2 separate regions of the Homo sapiens genome follow, and region 2 is linked to region 1. Evidence: promoter capture Hi-C in human tissues and cell types (Jung and others, 2019). All regions are on one chromosome and are shown on one strand. The core of a region is centred on a gene start or on the middle of the fragment in contact, and the rest is flanking DNA. Distances in the headings are between cores, read along the strand shown. Region 1 holds the start of ATL2 (atlastin GTPase 2). Region 2 overlaps CEBPZ (CCAAT enhancer binding protein zeta).

What was found. The method cuts DNA at HindIII sites, captures the fragments that hold promoters and counts their contacts. A contact is called where the count stands out against the background at its distance.
Region 2: a contact is called between a fragment that was not itself captured here and the fragment with the promoter of ATL2 in region 1, in 1 of the 25 tissues and cell types used here (aorta).

Annotation. Positions count from the first base shown.
Region 1 is chr2:38,373,693-38,379,642 of GRCh38, reverse strand. It overlaps ATL2 (atlastin GTPase 2), which reads left to right and starts at 2,370. Exons shown (of 13, transcript NM_001135673.4): 1 at 2,370-2,500. The coding sequence starts at 2,383. RefSeq lists silencers at 1,951-2,000, 2,071-2,230, 2,451-2,950 and enhancers at 2,201-2,450, 2,277-2,776, 2,777-3,278. The HindIII fragment of the contact is 9,835 bases long and covers 1-5,950 here.
Region 2 is chr2:37,211,181-37,217,130 of GRCh38, reverse strand. It overlaps CEBPZ (CCAAT enhancer binding protein zeta), which reads left to right. Exons shown (of 16, transcript NM_005760.3): 6 at 94-147; 7 at 713-815; 8 at 923-991; 9 at 2,179-2,245; 10 at 3,170-3,267; 11 at 4,739-4,796; 12 at 5,092-5,288. It also overlaps a transcript of CEBPZOS not described here. Among named protein-coding and RNA genes, the nearest start is that of CEBPZ, 17 kb to the left of the region's middle. RefSeq lists an enhancer at 1,212-2,411. The HindIII fragment of the contact is 4,916 bases long and covers 1-4,839 here.

The sequences.
Region 1 (5,950 bases), core at 1,121-3,620:
CACGGCAACCTCCACCTCCCAGGTTCAAGTGATTCTCCCACCTCAGCCTCCCGAGTAGCTGGGATTACAGGCACCCGCCATCATGCCAAGTTAATTTTGGTATTTTTGTGGAGATGGGGTTTCACCATGTTGGCCAGGCTAGTCTTGAACTGCTGACCTCAGGTGATCGCCCCACCTCGGCCTCCCAAAGTGCTGGGATTACAGGCATGAGCCACCACACCCAGCCTTTTTTTTTTTTTTTTAAATAAGCGTTTGACCTCTCTTGATTCAGGCATAGTAACCACAGATGGGGGAGAGAGTGGGTTTGGGAGCCAAGATAGGCAGAACACCAAAAAGAGAAGAACATAGGCAAGGAAAAAAAAAAGAAAAGAAAAGAGAAAAGCAAAGCAAAACACGAAACACATGGGGTAGCAGCCTAGATTAGTAGATAGAATTGAAGTCCTTAAAATCGAAGGCACAGTGAGGGAAACCATAAGGTCTTTTATTACATGTAAGATATTCAATATCTTCCAAAGGACTGCCTATACTAAGCATAGAGGGTGATTTGGCTTAGGTGAACACTGCACTTTGGTAAGGATTCAGGTAGCTTTTTGTTGTCACTGACTGTATCAACCTTAATTTAGCAAATGGCCTATGCTGTGCTGTTTGTAAATGGTTTCTTTTTTCTATGTGCCTAAGCAAATGTTTTTTAGTGAGTAAATGACAGTAAATAAATCTTTGTAGAACAATCCTCGTGAAGATTTTTTTGCCCTTCTTCTCCTCCTCCTCCTCCTTCTTCTGCTTCTGCTTCTTCTTTTTCTTCCTTTTCAATACTACGTTTTTCAGGCCAATGATAAAACAGAAAATGTCTTGACAAAGTGAGCTCTCCAAATCATATATCACAAGGACGTAAGAGGAATATCACTTAACAAGTTGATAAAGATCCTGCCATCAATATGAACGAGGGGGAAGGGTAACTGTACTTTAGATTGTGGAGGTGGTTCAAGTCCCAGAACTAGAATCTTAGTAACTCAAAGAATATTGCCAAGAACACGTATATAGTTATTCTCCTAGATTTATGTGACAATGATGACAAACTCCATATTCTGTTGAAATATATTTGGATGGGCCGGGCGCAGTGGCTCACGCCTGTAATCCCAGCACTTTGGGAGGCTGAGGCGGGTGGATCACGAGGTCAGTAGCTCAAGACCAGCCTGGCCAAGATGGTGAAATCCCGTGTCTATAAAAATACAAAAATTAGCAGGGTGTGGTGGCGGGGGACTGTAATCCCAGCTACTCCGGAGGCTGAGGCAGAGAATTGCTTGAACCCGGGAGGCGTGAGCCACCATGCCCTACCTAGAATGGTATTTTGAAAGCTTTAATAACACCAGTGCTTTTCTAGAGATTGTGCATGCTGTGAATTTTAGACTTATGAAAAGACCTGGACAAAACAGCTGTTTGTACACCCGGACATCTGTTTTTACTGGAGAAGAGGAATTTCTAATGCAGCTGGCAGTATGGTAAAAATCCAAAGGGATCATGTTTCACAGACGCCTCCACGGGCTGACTTGTAATTTAAAAAGTGACCTGAACTTTCTACTGGATGTCACTGGATCCCCAGAAGAAGGTTCATCACAATTAGGTAAGAACCTGCCACGATTCATTTTCCGATTAGAGTGCTTTCTGGCATGCCTCTGCAAGGTGCTAGGAGCACAGGGCCAGGGTATACACAGTTGAGAAGATGGGGGAAGGTCTCATAAGTAGATGGGGAGCGAATGCAAACAAACCTTAGGATGGTGGGGGGGAGGGGAAGCAACAGTAGGGACTTGGGTGAGGAAAGAAAAGATCAAGAGGAAAAGCAGGGCACTGGCAACAACTTGGGGGGTGGATGGGGAGAGAGGAGGGGAATGGCTGTGATGAGGAGGGGGCGATGAAAAGGAGAGAAGGGGTGCGAAAGCCACCTCACGTGCAGGACGCACGAATCAACGATTAGAGATGTAAAGCGAATTGGGAGGGAGGGACTTAGTTCTCTGGAGCTCCCTTCTGCGTTTGCAGAGCCTGGCCCAGCGCTAAGGGGGTGTGGTGCTGAGCTCAGGGAGGTGGGGGTGTGAGACGGCGGCGGCAGGGACACCCCCGCCCCAGTCCAACCAGAAACTTGGAGCCGGGGAGACGGATCTGCAGGCGGGCAGGGCGAGGGCGGAGCGAGCGAGCGATGGGCGGGGCGGGGGCGGAGGGAGGGCGAGGAGATACAGGCGGAGGGCGAGGAGATACAGGCGGAGGGCGAGGAGATACAGGCGGAGAGCGGCGCTAGGACCCGCCGGCCACCCCGCCGGCTCCCGGGAGGTTGATAAAGCGGCGGCGGCGTTTGACGTCAGTGGGGAGTTAATTTTAAATCGGTACAAGATGGCGGAGGGGGACGAGGCAGCGCGAGGGCAGCAACCGCACCAGGGGCTGTGGCGCCGGCGACGGACCAGCGACCCAAGCGCCGCGGTTAACCACGTCTCGTCCACGACCTCCCTAGGTACGGGCCAGCGAGGCAGAGGCCGCGGGGCCCTGATGGGGAGAGACGCTCGCTGCTCGGGCTCGCGGGCACCGGCCGCAGGCGGCGGGGTCGGAGTCCGCGGCTGGTTCAGGTCTCCTCCCGCCGCCGCGCCTGCCCGCCGGGCCTAGCCTCAGCCGCGCCCCGCGCTCCCGCAGCGCGCGGCCTGAAAGGGCGGCTCGTGGGCCGCGGCTCCAGTAGCTGCTGGGAGAACCAGTGGCGCGCGCGTCTGCGACCGGCCCGGCCCCCTGCCCGCCAGCCCGCCGCGTGGCTGCCGCCGTGTCCGCCCCGACCTTAGGGGGCGGCCTTGAGCCGTGGCCGCCTGCCCGGGGCGCGGGGAGGTCGGCTGCGGCTCCGCTCCGTCCGGCGAGCTCCGGACGCGGCGGGGCGACCCGTTAGCTGGTGGGCGTTCGCTGTCCCTTACGCGGACAGGGAGGAAGGGGTGGCCAGGGCATGATGGGCCCCGCGGAGGAGGAGGTCGCGCGGGGAGCAGACACCTTGCTGCCGGGTCCGAAAGCTCCTTAGACACCCTTCCTGGAGGGAACCGCAGTCCGCAGGCCAGGGCTCTGTCCCCGGGCTCGCGTTTCGGGGCTCCTCGGCTCCCGAACCCATTCGCGCGGGTTGTGCGTGGCTAGGGTGCAAGTCTAGATTTTCGTGTCAAACTGGGGTTATGAGCCGTTTACGAGTCACTTGGACGATAGTAAGGCCTGATCACTCTGAAAGTGTCTGTAGTGTGAAGTCACCTGATCCTTGGCTCCCTGGTTTTGCTGAATGTGAGCTCCTACTGTACGTGTACCAGGAGCGCCCCTGCCCCCTCGAAGACGCAGTTGCGTTGGCAGCGCAGTGTATCCCTCTCACTCATAACACCCCTATTTATAGGAGTTTAGCGTTTGATCTCTCACTGTGGTGCGAATTGATCGCATGAAATCCTGATTGAAAATTTTGATGGTACTTAAGAAAGGCATAAAGTTTTTTCAAAGGCTTATAAATAGTAAAAGCCTACGATTTGGTAAGTACGGCCAAGATAAGAGTTTATTATTAAATACAGATACGAGCTCGTGTCTTAAGATTTCTTTTTTTACGGTGTGTAAAGGTTTTGCTGGATAAAATGTAAAGCATTTTGGTATGATGTTAACCACAAGGACTCACTTTAATAGGAAAGTTTATTTGAAATATACTTCATCATTCCTGGTAGTTCTTGGCGCATGTCAGAGGTGATGACAGACTGGAGTTTTGCTAAGGGAAGAAGAAAAGGAAATAAAGCTTATTTTATTATTGTCTGCCAACCAAAACGCTTGACTGTTTGTACAGTGGTAGCACTCTGTAGAATAAAAAACTACCAAAGAAGCAGCTTCGCCTTAGATGTGTGCTGGTTGGATTTCTTAAGTAATTAATTGTTTTGGAATGCGGATGGATTAATTTCGCTCTTTTGGTTGGACCCTAGGGGAAGAAGTGTGTGTTCTTTTCTTTCTTTCTCTTTCTTTCTTTCCTTTTTTTGAGGTAAGAGTTTTAGATGCAGTTTCAAAATATTCTATGTATTTACCTTATTAGAAGAAACATAAATTTATACTTCAGTTATGGTTGTGAACGTTGTTGTGCTGTGGTATCTTGAGAAGAGATGATACTCTTCAGATTGTTGTTGAAATAGGGCCCACCATTTATTATTTAATAAATGCTTTTGTCTGCTACTCATAGGTTTTTGTCCTTTGTTTTTTAGGACGGATCAGCAAGACCTTCACTTGATAGCCATTCCTAGCAAATGATTGCCTAAAACAGTCCCTGTACCTGCTAATTTGCTCCGAGTCACTCATTAATGAGTTAAAAACTAAATGAGCTTGGTAGGATTTGTGTTTAAAGTGAGAAGAAACAGACTGAATGAAAAGGACTCATCTATTTTTGACTGTGTAGAAACTCTTTGTCTCCCTCTGCTTCCTGGAGAAATAGCTTCAAAAACCAAGTTGGGGTCAAGTGTCACTTGAGTAGTTTAGTGTTAGGGAGAGGCTTTGTGTTTATTCTTTTAGGAATGTAGGATCTTTAGAAAGCAAATAAGTACTCATTTTATTGGCTTTTTAAGTTGATAGGATTCTGTAGATATGATTAAATCTATTTAGTAAAGTGTTTTGAAATTCTTCGAAATTATTTAGGGAGAAGTAGCTGCCTTACAGTAAAGATATTATAGGGAAAAGAAACCCTGAGTGAAAATAAGATTATGGCCTTAAGTCGAGTGCACATAGGTGTATTTCAGGATTCGTTTTTCTGTGACTGTATTGTAACTTTAAAGTTTTGGAATATTCACAAGTATAAGTAACTTTCTTGAAATTGTTAGACCTTTTCCAAAATTAGGCTTTTTCCACAGTTGGTATTAGGCAGCTAGCTGCTAAGAGTACGGGGAGACTGATTAACTAGTTTGATAATGCTGGATGGAGTTCAACATATATTTTTTAAATTTTGGGACTTCATAGCAAGATGTATTAAAAAATTGTTGATGGTCATTTGGAAGACCTGTTTGACACACACAATTGTCAGCAAAGCTGTTTGTCAGGCCCTTAAAAAGTTAAGAGCCAGAAATGTAAGGCATAGGAGTAGAAGTTAAACTTTTTGGTAATGGTGGTTTAGAGCTTTACAGCGCAAAGATTTTCTCCAGATAGGTGCAGGGAAGCAGCTTTCTTCTTTTCTTTCTTGTTTTTAACGTGTAATGGTATTCTGATTTTGTAGACATTTTGGGTTTTCAAAGTCCAGGTGTATTATTTACTTTCTAGAAAATTTGAGAGTTATTTACTTTAAGGAATGTAGATGTGAACATAGAATAACTGAACTTGATTCCACAGTGAATTCATTACTTTAGTAGTTTTCTTCCTATCCGTTAGTCCTCCACACAGCACATGATACACAACACTCGAGGGCTTTCTCTATGGCTTTAAAAATGGATAGCAGGCTGAGTGCGGTGGCTCACGCCTGTAATCCCAGCACTTTTCGGAGGCCGAGGCAGGTGGATCACCTGAGGTCAGGAGTTCGAGACCAGCCTGACCAACATGGAGAAACCCCCTCTCTACTAAAAATGCAAAATTAGCTGGGTGTGGTGGCGCATGGCTGTAATCCCAGCTATTTAGGAGGCTGAGGCAGGAGAATCGCTTGAACCTGGGAGGTGGAGGTTGCCGTGAGCCGAGATCATGCCATTGCACTCCAGCCTGGGCAACAAGAGCGAAACTCTGTCTCCCCCATAAAAAGGATAGCAGGAAGAAAGTACCAACCTGAAAATATGATGGCAATAGGATAATACTTGGTAGATATTATAGAAAGAAGTAGAACAATTAGTAAAGGAAGTAGAACAATTCTGTTTGTTATGGTCATGGAGAAGCATGAAGTATTCAGAAGTGCAAAGCCAAAATAACTTTTACAGATGATTTTCCAAGTTATGGAACGTGTCTCTGT
Region 2 (5,950 bases), core at 1,132-3,631, 1.2 Mb after region 1:
CCACCACACCCAGCCCGATTTTCTTAAATAAGCTATAAATGTACTAAGAGTCGACCTTAGAAATATTGATATTATTCACATTTTTCTTTTTAGTTATCTGTGCATTTTCATCCCTCCGTGGCCCTTTTTGCAAAGACCATCCTTCAGGTGAGTCTAAAATAAATCCAAAGATGAGAAATAAGAAAAAAAGTATCATTTTAGATAATCAATAATTGGTCATACAGTGTTTTCTCTAACAGAGAGAATCTTGTACATTTTACTGCTCGTATAAAGAAGCAGTGACTTGTTTCATACAGAGTAGCAGATAACTTTTCCCACTCTGAGATGAGTGGAAGCAATAAGACATTGAAAGCCACGCAGTTATTTATTTATTACCTTCTAGCTCCTCTCCTGGAGAAATACTGCCTCACTTTCCCATTTGCTGTGTTTGCCACTTCAGGGTTTGGTTCCTGATTAATGGTTAGATGGCCTGCATTATTAATATTAGTCTATCCATCAAATCAACATTACATCCTAGAATATGTATGTATATGTATCTGTGTGTTTAATTTTTTAAGTATAATGTGCATGAGAGAGATATTTGAAGAGTCATTTATTGCATATTTGTATCTTCAATACAGTGTAATAGAAATTATCTTTTTCTTCCTTTTTCTTACTTGGATTCATAGACATAATTTGAATTAAGTTTTTAAATCCCCGCTCCACTTTTCAGGGAAACTATATTCAGTATTCAGGGGACCCACTGCAGGATTTCACTCTAATGAGATTTTTGGATCGATTTGTATACCGAAATCCAAAGCCCCATAAAGGCAAAGGTATGCTTCTATTTAGTGAATTATTTGGCTTTCATTTTTAATACATAATAAACAATATGAGCTTATAACTAGGTTTTGCATTATACTGTCATAATTTTACATTTCAGAAAACACAGATAGTGTTGTGATGCAGCCGAAAAGAAAACATTTTATTAAGGATATTCGTCATCTTCCTGGTAAGTATAAACCTTAGACAGTTGAAACTGAAAAGACAATATAAGACAAAGATGCATAAATTGTATTATTCTTTGTTCTAATTTATCAGAATAAAACCTGAGCATCAAAGACATTATCCATCTTTTTTCCCAAGAATAGGTATTCTTAAATCTACTGTATCTGACTGGGCCTTTTTTTTTTTTTTTTTAACTTTATTACAGCAAATTTGAAACATATCCAAAATAAACAAAATAGTATGATGAACCCCCTCCCCATTACCATCACCCAGCTTTGACAGTTGTCACCATTTTATCATCCGTAGCTTCATCCACAACCCCTATGTATATAATTATTATTGCTTACAATTCAGACCATCTTAAAGCTCTCTAATATCAGCTTAGCAGCACAAAAACCCACAGCTGGTTTTGTCACAGAGCATCATTTTAAACTTAATAACCTACTTCTATATTTGCTAGCCATCTTCTGGATCTGAGTCTGTTGTTGTATTCAAAGCAGACATTTCTTTGCATACCAGATCTCATCTCCCTTTTGTTCAGAGACCAGGATTAAATTAGACCTTATAGATCATTTAATTTCCAGTGACTTACTTCACAGAGGTCCAGAGATGTAAAAGGACTTACCCACAGTTAGTAAGTTAGAATTAAAAGCCAAATCTCCTTTTACTCAGGATGAGTCAGCAATTTTTATTCTGAAGAGGTAAAACTGATTTCTTGTAGTTCCTTATTTCTTAGTTTTCCTCAGTATAAAGGAAAACTCTGTTAACTTCCTGTTTATTCCCAGAATGGCACGCATTAATGGCAAGCTTGTCATTTTTTGAGCTGAAAATGACAAGTTTAAAGTGATTATTTATTAAAATAACTCTTTGAATTTTTTATTTCTCTTGAAAGTTGGGTCCTGGATGCAAATGAAGAACAGTAAGAGAACCCTGTTGTTTCACTGTAACGGCACTGACAGCTATGTACTGCCTACTTTATGCTGTAGCCAGTGAAGTTTCAAATGTTGGGGGGGTCTTCACACAGACTTTTTCAGAGATTGTCCCTTGCACTCCAGAGTCCCTTCTGTCTACCTTCCCACACAATTCTGAGATTTTTAGAATTACAGATTATGCTGTATTTTGTCTTAAGAGCTTGAGTAACATAAAGGGGATTGCTATATGAAGTTAAAATGTTTAAATTTATTTTTGTAGTGAACAGTAAGGAGTTCCTTGCAAAAGAAGAAAGCCAAATACCAGTGGATGAAGTGTTTTTCCACAGGTACTATACATAATATAGTTTCATTTGGGGAAACTGCTAAAATTTAAATTTTTAGATTTCATAAAATGCTTCATTTTATGAAATAATCTACTTCAATAATCTACTACTGTGTGTAAATAGACCATGGAACATTAGTGGGAGAAGTGGCCTTAGTTTTAAATGCTTCATTTTATGAAATCTAATCAGCATATTTTGAAAAGATCAAAGGATATGTCTGTGTTTGTTAAGAAAATTTACAAATCCGTCATTTTGCTAATCTTAATATATCTTAGTAAAACTAAAGTAAATTTGGGAGTTTTGTTAATTTAGCATATAAATTTTGTTTTATGCTTCTTTTTGGAATTTAGCCTTTAATTTCCTTTTATAATAATTTTCTTTATAGGCTTAAAATCTACCTTTAATATAGATTTTAATATAATACTTTAAGTTTAATATAGTGATAACTCATGGGTAATTTATCCAGACCATGGCCCTTAGAATGGATTCAGTGCACTGTTATAGAAATAAGTCCTAAACCAACTAGTATCATAACCTAATGCCTTAGGGTAGTAAAGTACCTCTTATCTCATCTGGTTGACTGGTTAATTAGGTTTGATTTGGCTTGTTTTTTAAAATCATTTAGAATGAATAATTTTGAGGGTTTGATTACATCTGTAAATGGCTAAGTTTTGCTGTATTCTAATATAAGAATAGGGCTGATAAAATATTATCTTTGAAATGTATTACACTTAAAAGATTCCAGCTACTTTTTATTGAGTTAAACTATTTTTTGTATATTAGATACAAATTTCAGTCATTTATTTCCAATTGAGTATACTTAAGATTTTACAGTTGTGGTTTGCCACTGGTCATAGGTGCTTTGATGATATATAGTAAGATTAGACCTTTAATAAAATTGTCAAATATATAACATGAATATTATAGGTATTATAAAAAAGTTGCTGTTAAAGAGAAACAAAAACGGGATGCAGATGAAGAAAGTATAGAAGACGTGGATGATGAAGAATTTGAAGAGCTGATTGGTAATTTGTTTTGTTGACTCTTTGTAAAATAATCTACTACTATGTGTTAATAGACCATGGAACATTAGTGGGAGAAGTGGCCTTAGTTTTAAAAAATCACTTAGCTAAGAATATCATGCAAATCACAGTGGAAGATTAAGAAATATTTGGGGCCAGGCGCTGTGGCTCACACCTGTAATCCCAGCACTTTGGCAGGCCGAGGCAGGAAGATTGTTTGAGGTCAGGAGTTCGAGACCAGCCTGGCCAATATGGTGAAACCCTGTCTCTACTAAAAACCCCAAAAAATGAGCTGGGCATGGTGGCACGCACCTGTAGTCCCAGCTACTCGAGAAGCAGAGGCACGAGAATCGCTTGAATCCAGGAGTCAGAGGTTGCCGTGAGCCAAGATTACGGCACTGCACTCTAGCCTGGGTGACAGAGTGAAATCCTGTCTCAAAAAAAAAACAAAAGAAACAAATATTTTTATGATATATGGTAATTCACCCACATTTGCACCAGAAAAATACATGATTTGTGCTTTGGATAGTCTATATAAGAAAACATTTATATTTGCTTAAGTCTATTCAATTGTTACAGCCAAATCTCATGTGAAAAAGAAATCCTTTTTACTATTCATAATCTATTATAGTATATCAGTACTAATTGATAGCAATAGTCTACTGTTTGATCTTTTTTATCTTTAATCCACAGAGCTACAGAAATTTTGATTGAAACTTAATAGACTTAAACAAAAAACATGGTAAATTGGAAAGACTTACACTGATTTCACGTTACATATTTTTTTGTTGTTGTTTTTTGGGGGGTTTGTTTGTTTGTTTTGAGACAGGCTCTCTCTGTCTCCCAGGCTGGAGTGCAGTGGCACAATCCCAACTCACTGCAGCCCTGCAGCCTAGACCTTCTGGGCTCAGGCGATTTTCCTGCCTCAGCCCCACGGGTAGCTGGGACTACAGGTACATGCCATGATGTCCGGCTCGTTTTTTTTTTGTTTTTTTTTTTGTTGTTGTTGTTTTTGTTTTTTTTTTTTTTTTAATAGAGATAGGGTCTTGCCGTGTTGCCCAGGCTGATGATCACTCCACCTCGGCCTCCCAAAGTGCTGGAATTACAAGCATGAGATGTTACATATTGTATCACACCTATTAAAAATGAGCACTTAAGTAGTTCTAATAGAGTAAAAAGGACGACAATTGCTAAATATCATTTTATTTGATATTTATCCTCTTTCCATAAAAGAACTGTAGAAAGAGCCGAAATTAACTGGATCCTTCTTTAGTTTTGGGATTTAACTAAGATCAGTATTTCACAGGTTTGTATACATTATTAAGGCACACTAGCAACAGTAACATTTACATTGTTTTGGTGTTCACTTGTCATAAACAGCAGAATCATGACTTAGAATAATTGATTCAGATACAAGATATATGTCAAGCTTGTCATTCTTTGTTGTATCTCACATTTCTGTATTGTCTGGCAGACACATTTGAAGATGATAACTGTTTCAGCTCTGGAAAGGATGATATGGATTTTGCTGGGTAACATACTTCTATCTTCTCCTTCCTATTTTTCTAGCATTTCCCAAATTGTTGTCCCTCAGAACAGTAGACCACAGAACTATATGATAAAGGGGAAATGTAGTCAAGTAAGTTTGGGAAGTGGATACAGTACTTTCATCTTTGACATTTATAAAGCACGTTATTATTTACTCTGAGCAGTCTGCAAAGCTTTCTCCTTCTGAGTCATTTAATAGCCTACTGCCCTAGTAGTCAGCAAAACACTACTTTAGAAAATACTGCCTCCTCTTGTATTACAAGTTGTGTTTTTTTCCAGAAACGTGAAAAAGAGAACAAAAGGAGCTAAGGATAACACATTAGATGAAGATTCAGAAGGTAGTGATGATGAACTTGGTAACCTGGATGACGATGAAGTTTCTTTAGGAAGTATGGATGATGAAGAATTTGCTGAAGTTGATGAAGATGGAGGAACATTCATGGATGTGTTAGATGATGAAAGTGAGAGCGTTCCAGGTAAGCATTTTTTAAAATAAGACATAAACTGTGTCTTCCTCACTTCCTTAGCCTTAAGTTTGTTTTTCTGCTAAAGGTTTTTAATATAGCCCTGTATTCAAATTAATACTCATGTCAGCCAGAAACTTAAAAGGACCTTTTCCCTTCTCGTTTGGAGCTGAAGGGTTTTTATTGTGTGTTATGTGTGTTTTCTTTTAAGCAGCTTTTTGAGCTTTGGACTTTTACTTTAACCAGCAGCTAGCTTCTCTGTACAATACATGTTGAGCTGAAATGCTGCCATTTTTTGATAGTAATTAGCAGTTTATAAAAGTTAATCAGTATTCATCATAGCCCAGCATAGATGAAGGTGAATATTTTATCTTGTAAATTAGCAAGGAACACCCAGAATTGTCTCTAGACTGTTGTCTGACCTTTCTGTCCTTTCACATACCTCCAGCATGCACATGCCTGCCCAACATTCTTCTTACTTATTCTGAACCACAGCAGAAGTTTCTTGTTTTAAGGGGTTTTATATTATTTGGTCTTATTAATGAAGCTATTTAGAAAATTTTGTACTTGCACAAAATATTAGAACTGTGCCAATTCTTAGAGTCTTTTTCTCAGTCTGTCCTCAAGCCTATGCTAGTGGAATTACAAAACCCACATGGAATAGCAGTATAGTG